7 separate regions of the Homo sapiens genome follow, and all the other regions are linked to region 1. Evidence: promoter capture Hi-C in 16 types of primary human blood cells and fetal thymus (Javierre and others, 2016). All regions are on one chromosome and are shown on one strand. The core of a region is centred on a gene start or on the middle of the fragment in contact, and the rest is flanking DNA. Distances in the headings are between cores, read along the strand shown.

Region 1 (3,443 bases), core at 291-2,790:
GGCCGTTTTACAGTCCTGTGAGATGGCGAGCTGTGTTCTTGAAGGGGAAAGTGGACGTGGGGAAGGAGCGGCCTGGGCTCAGGCCTCAGTTTCCTTAGCTGTAAAGCGAGATTACCTTCAGGATCCCTTCCGTATCTGATGCGTGTGGGGGCCACTCCACCTACTGTCCCCGGGACACAGCAGCTCCTCAAGGCCCTTGTGGTTTGGCCTTGGAAAGGTACCTCTCTTTCGGGGCTCTATGTGCCTCCGCCCCCTACCCCCAGGATCGAGTGACCAACTCGAAAACACTCAGACTGCAGGCTGCTCTGTGGCATTTTAGATAGAAGCCATTTGCTGCCAAATGGGGGAGGAATCGCCCCCAGCCCCTGGCAGCTTCTGGCTCTCTTCCCGGCCCCTCCACAAATATAGCCCCTGATGTTTCAAAAATTTCTTGTCCAGTCTGTGAAAACCAGAGTTTGGGCTGTGCCTTGACAGCAGTTCTGGCAGATGGATGGGGGAGGGGTGATTTTAAAAGGCCCCTGCCCACACCCAGCAAGCTGGTGTCCCTGTTTCCTGTACCGTGGTGGGGTAGCTGTGCGACATGGGCAGGTTGCTTAGCCTCTCTGTGCGTCCTTTCCTCCGATCTGAAATGGAGGTGCAGTTTGTTGTGAGGATTAAATGAGATGATGCGTTCAGAGAAGCCACACGTGTGAAGAGCCCAGTGCATCTGGCAGCTGGTACCACCAGGACTGCTCACTCTGTGCGACCTTGGACAAGTCGCTCGCCCTCTTCGACCACAGACCTTCTCCTTTGGGAAGTGGGGGAGGCCAGACAAGGCTGGCAGTCAGAAGGAGCTCACTGAAGAGCAGCCACTGTGGTCGTCAGCGAGGGCAGCTGGACTCCGGCACAATCCTGAGACACTGTGACCGCGGAGGTTTTCTCGGTGTGTCGATGGAAGAGGGAGGAATGTGATCCGTCCCAGCCGCCGGCGGGGCCAGAGCATATCTGGTATGTGTCTCTGGAATGATTTGGGGAAAATTAACTGAAGTTGGAACTTAAGACGCAAACTGCCCTGGACACAGAGATACAGAGCTGTCCGTGCGCACACCCCCCACAAAGGGCCGGGGCCGGGGTGGGAGTCGGCTTACAGGGCACAGCGCGGCGCAGGCCCGCCCTGGAATGGCCGTGAACTTGTTGTTTTTCCACGTCATTTGCTCTCAAATGTACTATCAAGCCGGGCGATGCTAACCCGGTGGCTGCAGGTCCCTCCTCGTAACAAGCGATTGTGTGTTCTTTAGAGGTGGCCAAAGGGGAGGAGGGGGCCCGGCCCCAAGGAGGTGGGGGAAAGGGAAACAAGCCCTCCTTCAGAGTGAGCTTGCGTGTCCTGGAGCCAGCTCCCCGCAAAGCACATGCCATTTCTGGCCCTTGAAGGGGTTAAAGGCCTCCTGGAGTCAAAAACAAGCAGGTGTCCCACCGTGCCAGATACGCTGCCTAAACTGCTTCCAGCTTCTTTTTTTTTTTTTCCCCCCTTCTGCAATAAGTCTGTGATCAGCCACGGGACAGAGGCGCCAGCAGCCTGCCTGTGACAGGCATCAGGTTAGCTGGCTCCCACTCGGGTGGCGCGCCCAGGATATAAATCCGGGCGCGGGCCCCTGCTGTGGCTCCTCTCCCTGCACACTCAGGAGAGGGAGCTTCCTTCTAAAGACCTTTCTTTTATCTGAAGCCGCACAGCCCGGCAGGCTGTGCTGACTTGGTGGAGGCAGCAGCGGCAGAGCAGCCTGAGCAGCAGCCTGAGCAGGAAACCTGCTGGGGTGGGGAGGGCAGGTGTCTGCAGCCCCTGAGAAGAAGGCCCTGGTGGGCCCCAGACCCTGGCATCGTTTCAGGGGAGGTCTCTAGCCGCCCCAGCCTGCACCATGTGGGCCCCAAGGTGTCGCCGGTTCTGGTCTCGCTGGGAGCAGGTGGCAGCGCTGCTGCTGCTGCTGCTACTGCTCGGGGTGCCCCCGCGAAGCCTGGCGCTGCCGCCCATCCGCTATTCCCACGCCGGCATCTGCCCCAACGACATGAATCCCAACCTCTGGGTGGACGCACAGAGCACCTGCAGGCGGGAGTGTGAGACGGACCAGGTGAGTGGGGTCCAGAGACCAGAGATGGACCACGTGAGCCTGTGAGTGACGGGGGTGGGAGCCGTCGGGGAGGGACTGTGTGGGAGTGTGAGGAGGACAACGTGAGTGGGGTCCAGAAGCCACAGTGTGAGGCGGACCAGGTGAGTGGTGTCCGGAAGCAGGAGTGTGAGATGGACCAGGTGAGTGGGATCCAGAAGCCACAGTGTGAGGCAGACCAGGTGAATGGGGTCCAGAAGCCGCAATGTGAGATGGACCAGGTGAGTGGTATCTAGAAGTGGGAGTGTGAGGTTGACCAGGTGAGTGGGGTCCAGAAGCCGGTGTGTGAGGCGGACCAGGTGAGTGGGGTCCAGAAGCCACAGTGTGAGATGGACCAGGTGAGTGGGATCCAGAAGCTGGAGTGTGAGGCGGACCAGGTGAGTGGGATCTAGAAGTGGGAGTATGAGGTGGACCAGGTGAGTGGGGTCCAGAAGCCACAGTGTGAGATGGACCAGGTGAGTGGGATCCAGAAGCTGGAGTGTGAGGCGGACCAGGTGAGTGGGATCTAGAAGTGGGAGTATGAGGTGGACCAGGTGAGTGGGGTCCAGAAGCCACAGTGTGAGATGGACCAGGTGAGTGGGATCCAGAAGCTGGAGTGTGAGGCGGACCAGGTGAGTGGGGTCCAGAAGCCAGAGATGGACCATATGAGCCTGTGAGTGATGGGGGTGGGAGCCACAGGGTGGGGACCATGCAGGAGTGCCCTGCAGGTCCTAGGAAGGTGAAGGAACACAGGCCCCGTTCACCTGGAGAGAAACAGGGCACCATCCTGTCTATTAACACCGAAGCCTGGAAGGAGAGGTGGGAGCGATGTCCCAGTTCATCAGGGACTGGAGCCCGAGGATTCCTCCTTCATGCGTGCTGAGGGCTACTGTGGCCAGCACCGTGCCGGGCACGTCGTGTATGTTGGCATGACATGTCAGCATGGTGGGCATCAGCAGCCCATTCACAGGTGAGAGAGTGGACACAGAGCCAGGCACGGAGGGCACAGTTGTCATGGCCAGTGAGGGAACGATGAGCTTGGAACTCATGTCTAACAAGAAAGCTTTGATTGCATTGGACTCCAGGCCACCTCCTCAGGAGTTTGGACCCTGAGCCTGAGAGAAGACCAGGCTGACGGCAGGCCAAGCAGGAGCAGCTCTGAATGGATCTCTGGTGTCCCTGGGAGGAAGGAGACCACGTTTCAGCCTCCCAGCGTCCTTGGTCCTGCCTTCTGCTCTGTATCAGAGGGCACTGCTGCAGGGCAGGGCCAGTTCTCTTCTAGCTCCCGAGTCATTCCCGAGGGCCATTCCTGCCCACCCCCTCTGG
Region 2 (3,443 bases), core at 560-3,059, 250 kb after region 1:
CTTGAACCCAGGCGGCAGAAGTTGTAGTGAGCTGAGATGGTGCCACTGCACTCCAGCCTGGGTGACAGAGTGAGACTCCGTCTCAAAAAATAAATAAAATAATAAAATAAAAAATAAAATGCTAATCACTAATATGCAACAAAAATAAAAGTTCCTCAGTTCTGATAAGACATCCCTAATAGCTTACACAGGGCACTGAAAGCTGAGTAGGATAAATGTAATACTAACTTTCAAAGAATAATCAAGAATCAAGAAAAAGTAACAAGTGACTGGAAGTTTCTAAATTGCTATCCAAGAAAAATATCCATCAAATAGTCTAGTTTTGGGCCACTGTTTTGAGAAATATCCCTGACAATATAGGTAACCTCATAAACAGAAGTTGCTGTAGGGTAGAATAGCTCAGAAAGCAGAACACTCATAATTACAAAAATACTTCAGAAATGGCATAGCTCTATATAGCAATTAGCAATCATGTGAAAGTGGGAAACATTGATATAAGAATTTATGAATGAGAAAACAGGAATAGAAACAGAGACGGTGTCATGAAATTCAAACAGATGCCAAAATACAGCTCTTGGCAGAAAAAGGTTTGGATTCGTGGTCCTAGTAAGAGTCCTCTTTTTTCCTGGATGAAGGCTGGAGGTATAGCATAAGGGAAGTAATGAGAATAGTTTCTTTGTCTCTATACCTAACCTTTTCATACTATCAACAAAATACTTGGGCAATGAGTGGCATGGGTTACACTAAAAAGAAAGTTCTCAGGGCTTTCTGCTTCCCTTCTACATTCAGAGATCTTAGTTGGGCTGGTAGCACATGAGTTCTGCTGAACCTCATTACTAGGTTTGTATAGTACAAGCATGGCTGACCTTCTTTATTGTTTAATTTAATTTTTAATTTTCATTTACTTATTTTTTAGAGATGAGGTGTTGTTCTGTCATCCAGGCTGGAAGTGAAGTGGTACAATCATGGCTCACTGCAGCCTCGACTTCCTGGGCTCAAGCGATCCTCCCACCTCAGCCTTCTGAGTAGCTGGGACTACAGGCATGTGCCACTATACCCAGCTAAATTTTTTTTATTTCTTATTTTTAGTAGAGACAAGGTCTCACCATGTTGCCCAGCCTGGTCTCGAATTCCTGAGCTCAAGCGATCCTCCTGCCTCAGCCTCCCAAAGTGCTGGGATTATAGGCATGAGCGACCATGCCTGGCCCTGACCCTCTTTTTAAAGTCTTCTTGATTTACTTCAAAGAAACATGTCTGCCTTCTACTTCTATAATTTCCACTTAACACACTAACTGAGATAACAAAAATAGGAAACATCCCAGTCCGTCACTCTGTAGTCAAAGAAAAACTTGTCATAGTTAAGAGACTAGGAAAAAGCTGTTGTAATAGTTAAGCCACACACCTATTCACAATGCCTATTCTCCAAATGCTAGGCAGTTAGGCAGCATGATGATATTTACTACAAACTAGGTAATGTCATTCATAGGACTTATTCTTAGATAAAATAACATGTTAAATATAAAACTAAAACTCTTTGCCCACCCATCCAATAGGAGTACTCACTGTATGAGAGCCATCAAAGACGTATCATAAACATTTACAGTGTAACACGCTAAGTGCTATAATGAAAGCAGAGAGGAAGAAGTGACTAAATCTGCTTTAAAAAAGGGAAGTCAAGGCTGGACACAGTGGCTCACACCTGTAATCTCAGTACTTTGGGAGGCCAAGGTGGGCAGATCACGAGATCAGGAGATCGAGACCAACCTGGCTAACACGGTGAAACCTCGTCTCTACTAAAAATACAAAAAAAATTAGGCGGACTTGGTGGCGGGCGCCTGTAGTCCCAGCTACTCAGGAGGCTGAGGTAGGAGAATGGCATGAACTTGGTCGGCAGAGCTTGCAGTGAGCCGAGATCGTGCCACTGCACTCCAGCCTGGGCAACACAGTGAGACTCCGTCTCAAAAAAAAAAATGGGAGGTGGGCACAGTTGCTCACGCCTGTAATCCCAGCACTTTGGGAGGCCGAGGCAGGTGGGTCATGTGGTCAAGAGATGGAGACCACTCTGGCCAACATGGTGCAACCCCGCATCTACTAAAAATACTAAAATTAGCCAGGCGAGGTGGCACCCGCCTGTAGTCCCAGCTACTCGGAAGGCTGAGGCAGGAGAATCACTTGAACCTGGTAGGCAGGGGTTGCGGTGAGCGAGATTGCGCCACTGCACTCCAGCTTGAGCAACAGAGGGAGATTCTGTCTCAAAAACAAAACAAAACAAAACACACACACACAAAAAAAAAACAGAAGTTGGGCCAGGCACGGTGGCTCATGCCTGTAATCCTAGCACTTTGGGAGGCCGAGGCAGGTGGACCACCTGAGGTCAGGAGTTCGAGACCAGCCTAGCCAACATGGTAAAGCCCTGTCTCTACTAAAAATACAAAAATTAGCTGAGCCTGGTGGTGGGCACCTGTAATCCCAGCTACTTGGAAGGCTGAGGCAGGAGAATCACTTGAACCCAAGAGGTAGAGGTTGCACTGAGGTGAGACTGTGCCATTGCACTCCAGCCTGGGCAACAAGAGTGAAACTCTGTCTCAAAAAAACAAAAAAACAAACAAACAAAAAAGAAGTCGACAGGTGCACCGAAATCTCGGAAATCACCACTAAAGAACTTATCCATGTAACCAAAAACTACCTGTTCCCCAAAAAATATTGAAATAAAATTATATATATATAATTATAATATATATGTGTATATCTACTTATTATATGTATATATATACACTTTATTTTATATATATATATATATATATATATATATATATATATATATATACACATACACACACACACTTTCTTTTTTTTGATATGGAGTCTCGCTCTGTGACCCAGGCTGGAGTGCAGTGGCATGATCTTGGCTCCCTGCAACCTCTGCCTACCAGATTCAAGCAATTCTCCCTGCCTCAGCCTCACGAGTGGCTGGGATTACAGGCACCCACCACCATGCCCAGCTAATTTTTTGTATTTTTAGTAGAGACAAGGTTTCACCATGTTGGCCAGGCTGGTCTCGAACTCCTGACCTCAGGTGATCCACCTGCCTTAGCCTCCCAAAGTGCTGGATTACAGGCGTGAGCCACCGTGCCCGGCCATATATACTATTTTTTTAAAAAAGAGAGAAGTCATTTTAGCTTACTCTAAAAGGAATGGTTTGCCTAAAACCTTTACTGAGATAAAGACATTCCAGGCAGAGGTCACAGCACATGCAAACGTCTAAAGATCATGGCATGCCCAGGTAACTACAATTCACCATTAAATTTTGAGTCGATGTAAAGGTAAACTATAAACTAAAGAATAAGTTGAGAATCTCTCTGATTCACAAAGCGAGTAAAAAAGACAAGTAAGATTCCACTTGGCCAGGTGCGGTGGCTCAAGCCTGTAATCCCAGCATTTTT
Region 3 (3,443 bases), core at 656-3,155, 230 kb after region 1:
TGTTCATCCTATCCCAAAACAACTGATAAGTAACTGCCATTTTTAAAATTGCTAATTTTCTGGGGAGTAAAAAAAAAAAGGCAAATCATGTTATCTAAAAAGAAAAAAAAGGTGAGGGGGCAAGAAAAAAGAACAATCAAAAGACAAATCCAAAATTTCCCCTTTAGAATAATGATGGAGATACTTCAGCCTCATTTTGAGCGCTCTTTCTATCCGTCTTTCCAAAAAGCAAGAGGATAAGATTAAGGCAGGAAGAGCCACCTGCTCTGCCGGCTCAAAATCAGAGCTTACCTCCTGAGATTGATGGCCTTTGCCAAGTTTGGAACACCTTCCATCTCTGTTGTCTTCTGCCCCATCAGACTGCTGATAGGCCTACGGGGGGAAGAAAGAGAAACAGACCTGCTAGAATGCCATATCCAACTCATTATTTGCCTTCTCAAAAGGAATCATCAGTTTTTACTGTTCCTGGAAGGCAGATAGTCCAACTGTTGCTGGGCCTCAGAAGATTGACATGTGGTCTTTCAGAAACTTCTCCTTGAACAATTTAGCATCAGAAGTCCCAACAGGTAAGCAAGGCTGACTTAAGAGCAAAGAAATCTCAGACAACCACATCAAAACAGTAATAACAACCTCTCCTCACCAACTAAGTCCTTTACCATGTCTCTCAACTTCAAAAAATTTTCAGATATTATATGTTATTAATCAATGACACAATGTGAAATTATACATATTTTAAAGCTATCATGAATCAATGATCATATTCTCAAAACAGAGTAGGATAACTTCAAAGAATCCCAGCGGTAGAAACTTCTAGTGATCTGACAGTTCCCTGTCTTGAAGATGTTACTTAAGCCATCCACAACAAAGCTGATGATTCTCCTACCTAAAGTCTCTACGTAGGGACAGTCCACGCTTAACCTCTGCACATATTCCTGTGTATCACCCTCATGGCCAAGAAATACTTCCTCATGACCAACCAAAGCCAAAAAATTCATTTTCTCTCACTTAATCTTCCAAAATAACAGACAAACAGCTTGCTACACTCCTTATCCATCCCTTTATATGTTTGAAAGAATAATCAAATTATTCGTATTTTCCCTGTTCTCTAAGCAAATCACCAGAAATCCTTTAACTTTTACTCATAAACTTAATTTTCTGATACCTTTAGTTCTAGATATTAATTATAAATTACAACTTTAAGCTTCTCAATAGACAACACTAGACTCAAAAATGAAAGAGCCCAAATACAGATAATAAAACATAAAACAGCTAAAGACCACAAGTATTACCTAATGAAGCAGAAGTAATGTTAGTGTTTGCAAAAACTATCTTGTGCCTAATTTTCTACTTTCCCACTCATATGTAGGCTCTAAATAAGAAACAGCTGATATATATTGTTTATTAAATATATAGATATTCTTAGTATTGCAAAGAACTAGATTCTGATTAAACAGACTAAAAGTAGCTTTCTAAATAATTAACTTGTCATTCTTTTAAAACCAAAAGATATAATTCAAACTCCTAAAGCTGCCTCATTAAAAAAACTTTCAACAAAAACACATATCATCATTAAAATATATATATATAAATCTTCGTAATCTACTTTTATCATTCTTAAAATTATGTAGAAGGAATTGCCTATTGACATAGAACTAAAGTGGAAAAAGTGTCCTATTACAGTATTATTTAATTTTTTCAAAATACTAACATTCATTGCTAATCACAAAGCACAGTAAAGGATCTGATAAAGTTTTGTACAAGCCTGAATGTATTTTTTTAGGTGATTTGAAAAACAGCGACAGAAAATATTTAGGCTCTCTCAAATATTAACTTTGATATGAAATGATACTTGGCAACTTTAAAATGGTTTATGTGCTGTGAAAATTCTTAATTTATCAATCACCTTGTGTTGAAGGTCTGTTTTAAGCCTTATTTAATTCCTTTAAATAAATTTAATTAATTAAATAAAATTTAAACATTCCTTTAAAATAAAAATTATGTTATTGTTTATGTTAATATCTCCCCCAACTTTCTATCTAGTGGAGTGCTTATTCTTATGACCAAGAAATAAGAAGTGTTTTCCTTCTAATAATAATGTTTCAAAGTGAAGGCTTGCAGGTATTTTACTAGACTAAGATCCTGACACAAGATGTAAAAAGCAAAGGAATGTTACATGGGGGACAAAAAAGGTAGAAAGGTCAAAGTATAAGGATCTAACACATTTGACTTCAGTGCCAACAACATTTTTCCATTTAATTCAAAAAGACGAATTTTCATTTAAAGGAAGGAAGGGCGGAATTAAAGAAGAGTCTAAATATAACAGCTTAAAATCACAGCCACGGGTGCAGTGGCATGCACCTGAGGTGGGCTCCCTCACGGGAGGGCTGAGGTGGGAGGATCACTTAAACACAGGAATTAGACCCTCATCTCTTAAAAAAAAAAACAAAAAAAAAACCTGTACTCCCCAAAAAACATAGCCACCAAATTAAGAAGTACTCACTAAAAAAAAAATATCACTGTCATCTAAATCTTTTCATCTTCTCCACAAAAGGCAATGGCTCTATACTCAGGGAAGAATAAGTTGTAAATCCAAGGAGCCTGAGGGCAACAGAAGCTTCCTAAGAGAGAATCAAATAATAAATGATTCTATATCAGCTCTGTGTGCTAATATGCTGTAAATAATGCTTCAAATTCATAAGTTATGACAAGCAAAATGGAATTTACTACTAACCCTTACTTCTCCAATTCTATTGACATTAGAAATGGCCAAACTATTATATGCCAAAAAGCACTAAAATTCTTTGACCTACTTCCTTAAATATATTCTAAGAAAACTACCAATAGAAGGGAAAACTTGTAGATGTAAAAAAATATTTACTGCAATATGATTCAGTATACCAGAAAAAATGACCAACCAACCAACAGAAGTTTTTGGTTTTTTTATTTTAAATTTCTTACATTTATTTTACCCTGATTCACCTCTTCATTCCACAAAGGATTTGAGACAGTTTACAATAGAGCATAATATATTAATTATACATGTATAAAACGTGGATCAAGAAAAAAAACAATTTAAATATGCCAACCAGGTAAGGTTCAAACTAGTTGTTATGGTTGCATTTCAACGTTTGTTCTGTTTCTGGGCTGCCATGGTAAAAAACACAGTGGCCATTAAATAATTCTCATTAGAGGAAAAAATAAAGCATAGTCCTCAGGGAAAACAAAAATTGTTAATAGATGGCATAGCTTCTGGATGGTGGATTTATGTGGACATAAAAATAATAATGAAGATTATACAACAAGGAAAAATACTTATGATAATGTTAAGGAAAAGATACAAAATTAAATATACATCCTAACCACAATGATATAAAAATATAATATATATGGGAAAAAGACTAGTAGGCCATACGCATAATCTTCCCCTTCCTCCCCCCACTAAA
Region 4 (3,443 bases), core at 568-3,067, 210 kb after region 1:
AAGGACGCATAATTAGGCAAGTTCATGAGAATCCTACTTTTGAAAAGAAACCCTGAAAGGTAAACATTAGTCCAGTACTATGTTGGCATGCATTAAATGCTTCAAACTCACAGAAGAAGGAAAAAAATGAGATACACGTGGAAAACTATCAAGTGGCAGATTTATACCTGCAGACCAAAACATCTGCTATTACTTGTCTAGAAAACGAAGCTATCAACAACTATCAGAATTCTTTTTTCTTAATTGCCCTACTTCCATATATCCATTTTTGAGTTGGTTATTAAATGTTAGCTTATGTATATAAATAATTTTACAACTACATTTTTGGAACAGCTTTTTGGCTATATTCACATTTGATACAACTAATTAGTAAAATCTGCTTTATATATAAAGGCAGATAAAAGAAAAAGTACATTTGTTGAACACTCACCACGTGGTGGGTACTGAGCTAGATGACTTATTTACATTATCGCATTTAATCCTTATCAAGAAACAGGGATTATTTTTCCAATTTTTCAGAGTAGGAAAAGTGATGCTCAGAGATTTTAGGCACTAGTAATTGGCAGAGTTTCGATTCAAAGCCAGTACTGTTCAATTCCAAGCCCTTTGCTTTCCTTGGAACTTCCTACTTGGAACTACCAACTTTTTGACAATTTAATCTTAATATCAAAGACTTTGATATCTTTATTTAATCAGATCAGTAGCAATTTTTGTGGTAAAGAACTTTAAAATTTTAATTATAAGGTATTTTAGCTGTAGCTAAAACAATTTCTGCTAAAAATGGACACATATAAGTAACTGAAAATTATTTACTCAAGTAATTTACCATATATCTTACAACTATAATTAAATACAAAATAATAAAATCACTTGATTTTTAAAACCACCCAACGGGGTAAGTCCCATCAGGAGAGAAAACTCAGGCAGAGAGATTAAGCAACTTGCCAAAGCTCCTACGGCCACGTGCAATAGAGCATTTGCACCCAGGCAGTTCAATTCCAAAGCCTTGTTGTACCCACTTGCAGGCGCCGCACAGCAGCTCACGGCACTGCCCTCTCAAATGAAGCCTAAACCCAAGACATCCCCTTAACATTAGTCTTATATTAATATTCTACATATTCTTAAGTTCAGTTGCTTTTAATTTCTTCAAAGCCTAAATATACAGATACACGTACACAAATATTTTATGTACTAATATATATACAAGTAGTAAGATTATTCCCAATTTTTATAAATCAGGAAAGAAAATAAAAGACCAAGTATCTAGTTTTAAGTCATTGATGAAATTTAATTTCTGGGCTTTCAACTAATATTAAACTTGAACTGACCTATGAATAAAAAGAAACACATTAAGGGAAGTTACTACTTTAATTCTTCTTAATTTATCTAAATCTACAATTAGGGTTTAAATATTTTATAAACATTTAAATAATAAATAAAAACTATATACTATGAACTTTCATTTAAAACCATGCACAAAGCAGAAATCTGAACAAATCAGAGACTGCTAGTCTGACGGTTTAGAAAACAAAAGAAACCACAACCTTAAGCCTCTAAAATACAGAAGATGGCTCTTACAGGGTGTAAGTAGAGTGAGCAACAGTAAAGCTACAGAGATTAATGACTACCCCCACAAGCAGGCATGGATATTTGTCACCCAAGACTACAAAGAAAAGAAAGGGCAACATCTGACAAAACAATAGTGAATAGGCTTTGTAAAGCTTTCACAACTTTGATGTGTAAATAATGGGGAAAAAGGCATTCCTTAACCTAAAAGTCTTAAATTTTTTCACTTTAAAACATATTTTGTTTTAGGAGGAAAATATTTAAATTGTCAGTTCCCATGAGCTATTATCAAAAATTACAAAAATGATACCTGAAACTCTATCATTCAAAGGATAATTAAAACAAAATAAGCTTACGGCCTGTATCTAACTGACTGCAAGTCCAAGCATAAAAGATATTTGTCCCTAAATGCTCAGAAGCTAAATGCAGAGGTTGTATAAACTTGGAGCCGGTGCTCTACTCTTGCTCTTCTTTTACTTTGAACATTCTGCTTAAAACAAGACCACACTGACCTTGTACTTGTGTGTAAGTACAATATGAAAATCCTTTTCTTTAGTTAGTGGTTTCCAAACATAAAGCTATAATCCTAACTGATGGTCTATAAATTACTATAAATTAGAATCAAAAATCCTAGCTTCAGGCCATTTTCCATTGTTTCAATCTGCAACAGAAATTGTTACAAAGCAGACCCGTTGAGCTAAAAATTTAATAAAAACCAGCTAAGCAGGGGCTTCTAAGAGAGATGGGAGTACCTGAGTATCCTTGGTAGGTTCTGCGTCAGAGCTGGCACACCGGTAGAAATAGAAAAGTGCACAAGCAGCAAAACAGAGAGAGATACTAAGATAGCAGAATTAATGACCACCGCCCCGCCAACAAAGCCAAACACAAACAGCAGCATGCATCCAGGACTCATGGCGCTGTGCTGGCATGGTGAAACACCCGAACCAAGGAGGCCTACACGGGGGCCAAAGGGGTATCTTTGTAGTGAGGATCTGTCATTCAGCTTGCTGCCACAAAAACAATGCCATCAGCAGCAGCTTTCCACTCCATCCTGCAGCAGCTCCCAAGCGATGACGTCATTCCGTTCTCCCCACCTCATAACCATAGAGCTGCTGCTCCTAGCATTTATGCAGCAACCCCAAGCGACAGCCAGCCTATTAACTATTTTCCCCTCCACTAAGAGTCCTGGCTTAGCTCATTGGCTACAATGCCTGAAGATCTACATAATTTATTCACACTCCTACACCAAACAGATGGCTAGCTAACCCTTTCAAACATGCCTCTCTGTAACAAAAAGGACTTCAAACCAATTACACGGGAGAAATAAAATATTTCAGCATTCCCATAAATTACAAAATTTTAAACCTAGTATAATCTCCATCAAGTATCAGAAAACAATCTAAATACTCAATGTGCTGCTTATATGGATGGCTCATAATTTATCTTTTTAATGGTAAAAACCGTTTCTACTTTTCTGTGCTATTCTCTCCTGCAGCATTCCAACCACAGTGGAGAGCTTTTTGAATCAGCCTAACTATTGTTCCAGGATTAAAGAACAGAGAAAAACAGAAACAAACATATTATTTATTTTACTTTTTCTCAAGGCAAAATATATAACAAAGCTTACCTAATTCTACTATGAGCTGTGGATTCTAGTTGATCACTCCCTGAGAGCTGATGAAGTTTTGTTCTTTCTAAATGTTCCATATAATTATGGATCATCTATTTTAAAGAAAGAAAAAATACACAATATTTAAGGCTAATACCTGGAATAAAATCATAGTGTTATAACAAGGAAAACATTTTGGTACAATTTTCTTATCTATCAGACTACTCGATTCCAAGTAAGAGAATATTAAGGAATGAAAAAAATTTTA
Region 5 (3,443 bases), core at 292-2,791, 180 kb after region 1:
TACACCAAGCACAGTATCATTAATTTTTAAAAAATCAAGAAAGTGACAATCTTAAAAGATTTCAGAAAGTATATAAAAATGAGCAAGAACTCAAATAACAACACCCTGAACTCAGCATGAAAATGAAGTAATGTCTTTGCAATTCTGATGGAAAAAAAATCTCCCAACCCATATAGTTCTTTATCTAGCCAAACTATCAAGTATGTCTTCTTAGGAAATTTGTAACATTCAAGTTCATAGTGCTCAAAAAAAAAAAATTTACTTGTCATGCACCCTTTGCCAGGAAACCTAGTAAGGATATGTTCCGTCAAAACAAAGGCATAAATCAAGAAGCAGGATGATGTGGCATCCAGGAAACAAAAGATACAACAGAGGAGAAAGGTGAAAAGAATTCCAGGGATGATAGTGAGGGCATATTCCAGAACCAGAACAAATATGACAGCAGTCTCAATTGGAGAATGGGAATAGGAGGCTGCAGGAGAGTAAGCCCTAGGAAACAGGCAGGTTTTGTGTTTGGTCATATTGGGGACTTTTACATTTATGAATTGCATAGTGTCTGCCAGTGATTTAGTAACAGGTCCACAGAAACATAAGGAAAAGAAACAAAATAACCCAAGGCTTTATTAATTTCAGAAGAACAAAAAGTTGTAAAAGAAATGAAATGGGCCGTAGCAGTGGCTCACGCCTGTAATCCCAGCACTGGGAGGCCAAGGCGGGTGGATCATGAGGTCGGGAGTTTGAGACCAGCCTGACCAACATGGTGAAACCCCGTCTCTACTAAAAATACAAAAATTAGCCAGGCATGGTGGCTCACGCCTGTAATCCCAATTAGGATGCTGAGGCAGGAGAATTGCTTGAACCTGAGAGGCAGAGGTTGCAGTGAGCCGAGATCACACCACTGCACTCCAGCCTGGGCGACAAAGCGAGACTCCGTCTCGGAGGAGGGAAAAAAATAAAAAAATAAATGAAATGTAATTATACTGTATTCTGTGGCTAAGTAGAATTACAGATTAATTTTATATAGTCATACTGATATAAATAATGAATTTAACTAACAGAATTTGAAATATATAATATTAGGAGGATGAAAGGATGGTGGTTTAGGCATTATATCCTCATCTACTACAGAAAGCCAACAGCTAGCATCACAGCCTTTTTCAACCAGGGTTCCGTATTTGATCTACAAAATACAGAAAAGGATTTAAGTGAGTATTTTTTCCATTCTCCCAAGGTAAGTACATACCTAGAATCCTATTCTAGACGCACAGGAGCATAGCTAATTCATTATATACAAGAGATGCCTTAGGGCATTAGGACTACATTTTCTCACAGAATCTCAGCTGAAAAAGGGAGGGATGAAGGAGGGGCAGGACGAACATGTTATTTTAGATACCTGAAGACAAACAGCATAAGAGAGAGCTAAGAAGTGATAGAGTTGTGCACCCTTTACCCAGAAAGCTAGTAAGGATATGCTCTGTCAAAACAAAGGCATAAATCAAGAAGCAGGGTGATGTAGGATCCAGGAAGAAGAGTGGCGACAGAATGAGAACCTGTCTGAGAGAGAGAGAGAGAGAGAGAGAGAGAGAGACAGAGGGTTCTGGATTTGAATCCCAAGTCCACCTCTTGCTAGCTTGGTAATCTGGGACAAGCTACTTTGAACAAGTTCTAAGTCTCTTTATTTATAAAATAAGGATAAAAAGATCTACCTCATAAGGTTGTAATTAGGATCAAATTATATAAAATCATGATGAAAACAATATTACTTAACATTTATTGAATGGGGCATTTTGCAATGATTTATCATATATTGATTCATTTAATCCTCACAACCATCTGAGGTATTAACACAAAGCTGTTTTATAAATGAGAAAACATACCTAAGATTCAAATCCAAGACAGGATTTGAACCCATGCAGTCTTACTCTAGGGTCTATGCTTTTAACCGCTACAGAGTACTGACTGCACAATGCTTAACAGAGATCAATAAATGGCTTGTATTTTTATAGTCATTAATTAATTAAAGGATCAACTTTATGGAAGAAATGAAAAGAAAGGCAGTAGCTCCTGTCTGACATTCTTGAGCATCAATGTATTTTGGATAATCCTGATTAAGATGATATCTAATCTCCCAGCACTTTGGGAGGCTGAGGCAGGCGGATCACTGGTGCTCAGGAGTTCAAAGTTCAAGACCAGTCTGGCCAACATGGTAAAACCCCATCTCTACTAAAAATACAAAAAGTAGCCCAGTGTGTGCCTGCAGTCCCAGCTACTTGGGAGGCTGAGGTGAGAGAATCGCTTGAACCCGGGGGAGGGGGTGGGGGTGGGAGTGGGGTGAAGGTTGCAGTGAGCTGAGATAGCACCACTGCATCCAGCCTAGGCGACAGAGCAAGACTGCATCTCAAAAAAAAAAAGATGAGATCTAACTATTTTCTTCCTACCACTAAACAGCCTTCCCATGTAAAATGATACCAAAATGAGACTAATTTCTTCCAATAATGAGATTACACTTCTCAAGATGGAAGTACATTCTCTCTTCCTGATCTGGTGGAAGGTACAAAAGTTTGTTCAAACTTTTTTGTTTTGTTTTTTAAATCACATTTATTTAGCATATGTACACATAAAAAAGAAATCACCTTCTGAACCCACCCAGCAGCAGGAAACATGCACAAACTCCAGGTAAGTGCTAGGGGGAGGGGCCCTGGACCCAAGTTAGTGTCCGGGACAATGCAATCTTGTGAGTAACAAGCCCCAGTCAGGAGGGGGCTGGACTGAAGTGTCCGGCAGGCTGGAGTACCCGGCTGCTGGCCCTAAAATAAGCATGCTCCATAGCCAACGGTGTGTTTCATGCCCTCAAAGTAGCACCGCTGCCAGCCCTGCCATGTCCACTCTGTTACTTCCTTCACTCCCGCTTCTTGGTTTTTTCAAGTTACAGAAAGTATGGGATATGTCTTGGCTGTCTTTTTTCCCCTATCTGCTATAGTTTGAATGTGTCCCCTATAAAATTCAGCTGTTGCCAATGTGATAGTATTAAGATGGGGCCTTCAAGAGGTGATTAGGCCATAAGGGCTTCTCCCTTATAAACAGGATTGGGGTCCTTATAGAATAATGAGGCTTTATCCAGTGTTCAGGGCTCACTTGTCCTTCTTCTATGTGAAGACACAGAGTTCCTCCCCTCCAGAGGATGCAGCAACAAGGCACCAACTTGAAAGCAAAGAGCAGCCCTCACCAGACACCTGACCCTGCCAGCACCTTGATCTTGGCCTTCCTAGCCTCCAGAACTGTGAGAAAATTAATTTCTGTTCTTTATAAATTGGCCAGGTGCAGTGGCTCATGCCTGTAATCTCAGCACTTTGGGAGGCCGAGGCAGGCTGATCACCTCAGGAGTTTGACACCAGCCTGGCCAACATGGCAAAACCCCGTCTCTACTAAAAATACAAAAAAAA
Region 6 (3,443 bases), core at 532-3,031, 180 kb before region 1:
TCTGCCTCCCAAAGTCCTGGGATTACAGGCGTGAGCCACTGCACCCGGTCGCTAACTTTTATTCTTAAAAAACTTGTAAATAATTACCTCCTAATCTTAACCAGCTTGATCACCCATAAAATTTCTTTCACAAGATTCATCTTCCACAAACCTCCTACAACTCTTATATCCATTCACTTTTTGTCCTATACTTTCCTCTTCTCATTTTCGAAAAATCAGTCATTTCACTTTAGGACAAAATTTATTCTCTTTTTCCGTTATCAAAACAAAACATCCTCACGTCTTATAGCTTTTCCTTAGCTTCCTTTGTATATTTCTTTTTCATATATTCCTTTTTCTTACCTTCCTTGTATATTTTCATATAGATTTTCCCCCTTATTGTTTCTAGTAATTGTAGCTACATATATTAATTAGAATTCTTAACCCCGGCCAGGTACAGTGGCTCATGCCTGTAATCCCAGCACTTTGGAGTCCGAGGTAGGCAGATCACTTGAGGGCAGAAGTTCAAGACCGGCCTGGCTGACATGCTGAAACCCTGTCTCTATTAAAAATACAAAAATTGGCTGGGCGTGGTGGCGGGCACCTGTAATCCCAGCTACTGGGGAGGCTCAGGCAGGAGAATTACCTGAACCCAGGAGGTGGAGGTTGCAGTGAGTCAAGATTGAGCCACTGCACTCCAGCCTGGGTGACAGCGCGAGACTCCATCTCAGAAAAAAAAAAAAAAAAAAAGAATTCTTAACCCTTAGTGACCTTAATTTCCATGGACATTAGAAAGTAAGCATTTGTGAATTGTGTGTCACACCAGCTGTAGATTGGTAAATCTATGAACCATAATGTCTAGAAGCATGAGCTTTCTCATAGTACAATTTGTCAGTGTGGCACAGAACATGTTTCTCAATGGTCCAAAATGTCTTTAAGTCTCTCTGTAAAAATAAACTGTAAAGGAGGCAAAATTTCATTTGTATCCCTTTAGGTTTTTTGTTTGTTTGTTTTGTGAGGCCTGAAAACTAAATTGTTGTTTGTACAGATTTCCCTCCTCCTCAACTTTCTATTCTTGATGCTAAGAGTGTTAAAACCTTCTGGTGGCTGAGCGTGGTGGCTCACGCCTGTAATCCTAGCACTTTGGGAGGCTGAGGCAGGTGGAACACTTGACCTCAGGATTTCGAGACCAGCCTGGGCAACATGGTGAAACCCCATCTCTACAAAAAATACAAAAATTAGCTGGATGTGGTAGCTTGTGTCTGTAGTCCCAGATACTTTGGCGGGGCTGAGGCGGGAGGATTGCTTGAGCCCAGGAGGCAGAGGTTGCAGTGAGCCGAGATCTTGCCACTTGCACTCCAGAGTAGGCGATAGAGACCCTATTTCAAAAAAGTAATAATAAAACCTTCTGGTATAGGAAGGACATCTTTTACATGGGAATTTTATCTTACATTCATTTAACTCACTTATTTTCAACACTTATGCTTGGATTGCCTATAAAGATGAGATAATAAACAACTAGTCATCATTTTGTTTTTCTTGCTGACAAATTTTATAATATAAAGACAACATAAGCTTGTTTTACCAGTAAACCTAGATAGGAAATCATGCATCTTTATGATATTTAATCCCCAAAACTATGAAAACATGTCTGTTTCAGTCAAACCAACAATATTCTTATTTGCCAAAGATTACCCAAGTCAGATGAGCTGCAAAAGTATTTGAGGTAGTTCTTAATTTTCTGAGAGAATACTTCATTTATACAAGCACTTATTTTTCTTAAAGCCAACAAAATAGAGCTCTTTCATAATTTAATTTTGGAGCATTAAAAGGAGATAAGAAACTATGATACCTGTATCATACATACAGACTTATATAAACATAAACAGCAACAGATCTTACAGCTTTCATTTAAATATCTTAGCCATGTTCCAGGTACAGTAATATAAAACTCCTGAATTTATTAAAGACTATCTGGATCCAAATTGTTCTTCTGGCCAATGGAACAAGATTTCTTGCCCAGATGACTAAAGCTTTTGAATAAGATTCGTGAAGGAGCTTTTAAGATTTTTTTGTTTGATTTCTGTAAGGAACCTATTATAAAGAGGCAATTTTTTATTCATTTAATCTTTTAGATGCCTCTGTGTATCAATTAAAGAATGCATCCCATTGCTTTTGTGGCATTTTTGAACCTTTCTTTTCTAATGCACCTTGCAAGTGAACAGTTTTATCTAGGTCAAAACTTTCCCACTGTGGCCACTGTAACTCTTAAGTTGTCCTCAGCAAAGTTAACCCATTTTTCCAAAAATACACATGTTCCTCATAATTGTTGTTCATGAAGTTAGCCACCGTCCCAGAAAGTGGCGTCTCAGACTCTGGAGTCCCAGACTCCTTAGATTTGGAGGAACTCACTTTCAAAAGGCACCTGCCTGAGGCTTTTAACTGGATCCATTTCAGTTAATTATCAGATCTGATTTGCTCCTGGACCCAGTCCTACTTGACCCAGTCTAAGAATTGTTCAAATAAACTTGGAGAACACAAAACACAAATTCCTGAAGCTTGGAATCTGAGATAGAACTCACCCATGACCTCCAGTTGCTACAAGAGAACAATTGGCACAGTGTGCCCTGTCAGGTACCCTTACTTGGTCACTAAATGCTCCTGAGGGTCACTGGAGTTCTACTTCCGATCCCACTTCTGACACCAATCTGTTAAAAGAAAAGCTTTAGGCCGGGCACGGTGGCTCACGCCTGTTATCCCAGCACTTTGGGAGGCCGAGGTGGGTGGATCACCTGAGGTCAGGAGTTCAAGACCAGCCTGGCCTACATGGTGAAACCCCATCTCTACTAAAAATACAAAAATTAGTCAGGCATGGTGGTGGGCGCCTGTAGTCCAAGCTACTCAGGAGGCTAAGGCAGGAGAATTGCTTGAAGCTGGGAGGTGGTGGTTGCAGTGAACCGAGATCACGCCATTACACTCCAGCGTGGGGGCCAAGAGCGAGACTGTCTCAAAAAAAAAAAAAAAAAAAGAAAAAGAAAAAGAAAAAGGAAAAGCTTTAGACAAATTTAGCAGAGCTTATTTGAAAAAATAAGCAATTCATGAATTCAGCAGCATGCTAAACTAGTAAAGACTCGGCTGGGCGTGGTGGCTCACACCTGTAATCCCAGCACTTTGGGAGGCTGAGGCAGGCAGATCACCTGAGGTCAGGAGTTCAAGACCACCCTGGCTAATATGATGAAACCCCATTTCTACTAAAAATACAAAAAAATTAGCTGGGCGTGGAGGCACACACCTGTAATCCCAGCTACTCAGGAGGCTGAGGCAGGAGAATGGCTTGAACCTGGGAGGCAGAGGTTGCAGTGAGCCAAGATCACACCATTGCACTCCAGCCTGGGCAACAAGAGTGAAACGCCATCTCAAAAGAAAAAAAAAAAAAACCTAAACCAGTAAAGGCTCAAAGAACT
Region 7 (3,443 bases), core at 281-2,780, 160 kb after region 1:
TAAATATATTTTGGTTTTTTTGCTAGCTCCTACTTGGTGCAAGGTAAGAGCGATTGTTAAACCGCAAGGTTATGGCTGTGTGATGTGAATGGAAGCTTAGTATGCCAGTTCTAAAAACAGCTTATTATAATCAAGTACTGGAACACATATTACCATGTTAACACACATTTTATACATTTTCTGATTAAGCTCAATTTAAACAACTACTTTCGGGTCTATTTCTTTTTTAATTGACACTTCCATTAAATAGCAGATTCACCAAAAAAGGGTAAGTTTTAATCACAGTAAACACATAGTACTTCTAGCACAAACATAACTCAAGCTCAATACATACACAATATTACTCAAACCCTACAAGCACTAAATTTCTCATCTTCACTTTGTAAAGTTTCTTACAATCACAAAACCAGCCAATCAGAAACTTATTTAATGGGGATCCAGGTCATTTTCAAGTCTCTAAATAATTCCCCATTATTTAAATTTGGCAGAGGATTGCAACAAATGCACAGTCAACATGATGCAGCTTACGATATCATATTTTTTGTCCTTGAGAAGAGCCTTACCGAGTTGGCACACTATATATTAAAAAAAAAAAAAAAGTTCAGTTTAGCTACTTAACCATTACCCCTAGTTTAAAAAAAAAAAATGAAGGAAAGAAAATGGACATAAAATCATTCTTGGAAATAAATTTTGACTGTAATTTTCTTGTCTCATGTGCTGTCTAACATCTTTGTTTTTCAATACTTACAACTGCCAAATGCTTGACCTTTTTTTTTCCTGCATGGCTGGATTTTCTCGTGATGCCCTACATTCAAAAAGAAAAGAAAAGAAACATTTATCAGTGAGGTATTCTACCTTTCTTTCTGAAGAACAAGAGACCCAAGAAGTTCATGGGATACACAGAGGGGAGTCAACAATTAAGTTCAATAAATACTGTAGTTACTTTGACCTACCATGTGTCAGTCAATCTGCTAAAGATTGACTTTAATTCTACTAAGAAAAATAAAATATCATCCCTCCCTCAAAGAGCTTAGTCTACCGACAGAGGACTGTAATATGTGCTAGACAGCCAACATGCCTGAATGATATTTAAAATTTTTTATTGAAAAGATACCCTCTAACTTTCCCTTTTATTAAAATATTGCCTTGTAAATTCCCATCTTTACATAAAAGTCTCTATCATCTATACTCGGAGCTCTCACAAAATAGCTTGAAACTTTGGCATCCTGAGGGGTCATTTTTCACAAGACTAAAACTTTTCCATCACTGGAAAGATGACCACAGCAGGGAAGAGGATAAACTGGATTGACAGGTGATTCAACAAAATTTCAGAAAATAAGATATTCCAAATTGATTTATGAGGTGGTAGGGATTCTGCCATCATAATCAGAGCTCTCTTTTCACTACTTTTTTGTTATGAACTAAATTAAAAACATTCTTTACTTCAGTGAAGTAGTTAAAAGTAAGCTACTATTTCCTTTAATTTGTTGACTACCACTTGGCTGCTAGAGTTAAAAACAGCAATGGAAAGTGAAGTCCAGTTGGGCACAGTGGCTCACACCTGTAATCCCAGCACTTTGGGAGGCCGAGGCGGGCGGATCACTTGAGGTCAAAAGTTCGAGACCAGCCTGACCAACATGGTGAAACCCTGTCTCTACTAAAAAATACAAAAATTAGCTGGGCATGGTAGCGCACACCTGGAAACCCAGCTACCAGGGAGGATGAGGCAGAACTGCTTGAACCCAGGGGGTGGAGGTTGCAGTGAGCCGAGATCACACTTCTGCACTCCAGCCTGGGCACAGAGCAAGACTCCATCACAAGACTCCATCTCAATAAATGAATGAATAAATAAATAAATAAATAAATAAATAAATAAATAAGGTCCACTTTCAGTTTTTTGAATATTTACTTATTATTTATTCGATATCCACTAAATACTGCAGTTAAGAACATACACTTTCTAGTGGGTTAGTTTCCTTGTCTAATAAATATAGATTAGAATACTGATCTTCCTTATGGGCAGTTATAAGCAATTACTATCACAGCAAATTGTAAAATGATATGTTAAAACACTTGATTCTAATATAACATTGGTAAAGGGTACATAAACTGTGAAATAAATGATGTAATCCTAAAGAAGTAAAAGTTGGCAATTAGAGAATGTGTTCATAAACTTAAAAACAACATGTCAATGCATACTATTATTGGTAAATCTGATATGACAATCCAAACTCAAAAATATGGGTAAATTAGGGGGCAGCTCATTTACAAACTTTTCAGTTCTTTCTAAATTAAAGAAACACTATTACTGAGACTACAACCATTAGATGGCAGCATTGGGTGAGATTTAAGAGCCATCTGACTGAAAGATACCAATGGAAGGGTGTACTTGGCATGAACAGTTAGAAAAGAGAGAAAGAAATCAAGCAAGAGTATTTTACAGAAAGACACTGAGTCAAAATAATTTATTTTCCTGTGTTGCATATGAAATTGTGATCTTTTCCTGACATTACTGGGTAAGTAGTATTGATTTCTATATTTGAAAAATGACCATCATTCCTAAGTAATAATAATTGCCTTTTAGAGGTCGTAGTAACATCCTCCAAGATCCCTTACTGGCCCAAAAAGCACCTCCTTTGATCACATTCTGTTGCTAATTCTGAGTGTTACTTTAAAAAGTCTCTCCTAGTAAACAGAGAAAGGGGCTTGGATCTTACAGGGCAGGACTTAAGTTCCACATGAAGGAATATTCAAACCTACAAAATAATAGTAGGAAAATAATGGAGCGCTTGTCATACAAACCGAATCATCTCTGTCCATCGAACAGCTTCCTGAAGCTCCATCAATCTCTCTTTATACTGGTTTCGCTCCATGAGAACACGGGCCATTTCTACTCTAGTAAACCGTTTCCTCTGGGCTGTGGGAATATCACTCTATAATGACAAGAAAATGACATATCATTCTGGAAGCTTATAAATGTCTTGGTGTTCATCTCAGAGTTATGCAAAATCTTTCAGTTTTTAAGCATTCCTTAATTTTTAATCTAGTAGATCATTTAAAGAAAAATGGCTTTATAAAAACAAAATCAACAAAGACTTTTTTTTAAAAAAATATATTTTTTGAGACAGGGCCTTGATCTGTTGCCCACCCTGAAGTGCAGTGGTGAAATCATAGCTCACTGCAGCCTGGAACTTCTGGGTTAAAGCAATCTGCCCACCCCAGCCTCCTGAGTAGCTTGGACTACAGGTACATGTCAACACGCCTGACTAATTTTTAAATTTTTTTGTAGAGACAGGGTCTCGTTATGTTGCCCAGGCTCATCTTGAAATACTGGACTCTAGTGGTGCTCCTGCCTCAGCTTCTCAAAGTGTTGGGACTACAGGTGTAAGCCACTGTGCCCAGCCAACAAAGAGATTTAAATAATCACTCATGACTACAAAGAT

The links. Contacts are between HindIII fragments. The CHiCAGO score rates a contact against its expected background, and 5 or more counts as called.
Region 2: a contact is called between a fragment that was not itself captured here and the fragment with the promoter of WFIKKN2 in region 1, in 3 of 17 cell types (naive CD8 T cells, total CD8 T cells and activated CD4 T cells). The highest score is 6.4, in naive CD8 T cells.
Region 3: a fragment that was not itself captured here is called in contact with the fragment with the promoter of WFIKKN2 in region 1 in 5 of 17 cell types (activated CD4 T cells, total CD8 T cells, naive CD8 T cells and 2 more); the score reaches 8.2 in activated CD4 T cells.
Region 4: a fragment that was not itself captured here is called in contact with the fragment with the promoter of WFIKKN2 in region 1 in 1 of 17 cell types (naive CD8 T cells); the score reaches 6.0 in naive CD8 T cells.
Region 5: a contact is called between a fragment that was not itself captured here and the fragment with the promoter of WFIKKN2 in region 1, in 2 of 17 cell types (total CD8 T cells and neutrophils). The highest score is 7.1, in total CD8 T cells.
Region 6: a fragment that was not itself captured here is called in contact with the fragment with the promoter of WFIKKN2 in region 1 in 3 of 17 cell types (naive CD4 T cells, fetal thymus and activated CD4 T cells); the score reaches 6.0 in naive CD4 T cells.
Region 7: a contact is called between a fragment that was not itself captured here and the fragment with the promoter of WFIKKN2 in region 1, in 4 of 17 cell types (non-activated CD4 T cells, total CD8 T cells, total CD4 T cells and 1 more). The highest score is 5.7, in non-activated CD4 T cells.

Annotation. Positions count from the first base shown.
Region 1 is chr17:50,834,046-50,837,488 of GRCh38, forward strand. It overlaps WFIKKN2 (WAP, follistatin/kazal, immunoglobulin, kunitz and netrin domain containing 2), which reads left to right and starts at 1,541. Exons shown (of 2, transcript NM_175575.6): 1 at 1,541-2,102. The coding sequence starts at 1,893. The HindIII fragment of the contact is 3,752 bases long and covers 1-3,178 here.
Region 2 is chr17:51,086,838-51,090,280 of GRCh38, forward strand. The region is part of intron 1 of SPAG9 (sperm associated antigen 9); the gene reads right to left. Among named protein-coding and RNA genes, the nearest start is that of SPAG9, 32 kb to the right of the region's middle. The HindIII fragment of the contact is 6,447 bases long and covers 1-3,443 here.
Region 3 is chr17:51,067,641-51,071,083 of GRCh38, forward strand. All of the region lies in intron 2 of SPAG9 (sperm associated antigen 9), which reads right to left. Among named protein-coding and RNA genes, the nearest start is that of SPAG9, 52 kb to the right of the region's middle. The HindIII fragment of the contact is 1,413 bases long and covers 1,200-2,612 here.
Region 4 is chr17:51,044,182-51,047,624 of GRCh38, forward strand. SPAG9 (sperm associated antigen 9) reads right to left here. Exons shown (of 30, transcript NM_001130528.3): 4 at 3,194-3,288. Among named protein-coding and RNA genes, the nearest start is that of SPAG9, 75 kb to the right of the region's middle. The HindIII fragment of the contact is 196 bases long and covers 1,720-1,915 here.
Region 5 is chr17:51,015,964-51,019,406 of GRCh38, forward strand. The region is part of intron 8 of SPAG9 (sperm associated antigen 9); the gene reads right to left. Among named protein-coding and RNA genes, the nearest start is that of SPAG9, 100 kb to the right of the region's middle. The HindIII fragment of the contact is 6,365 bases long and covers 1-3,443 here.
Region 6 is chr17:50,650,357-50,653,799 of GRCh38, forward strand. The region is part of intron 1 of ABCC3 (ATP binding cassette subfamily C member 3); the gene reads left to right. Among named protein-coding and RNA genes, the nearest start is that of ABCC3, 17 kb to the left of the region's middle. The HindIII fragment of the contact is 458 bases long and covers 1,553-2,010 here.
Region 7 is chr17:50,998,913-51,002,355 of GRCh38, forward strand. It overlaps SPAG9 (sperm associated antigen 9), which reads right to left. Exons shown (of 30, transcript NM_001130528.3): 13 at 2,803-2,933; 14 at 749-805. Among named protein-coding and RNA genes, the nearest start is that of SPAG9, 120 kb to the right of the region's middle. The HindIII fragment of the contact is 2,874 bases long and covers 94-2,967 here.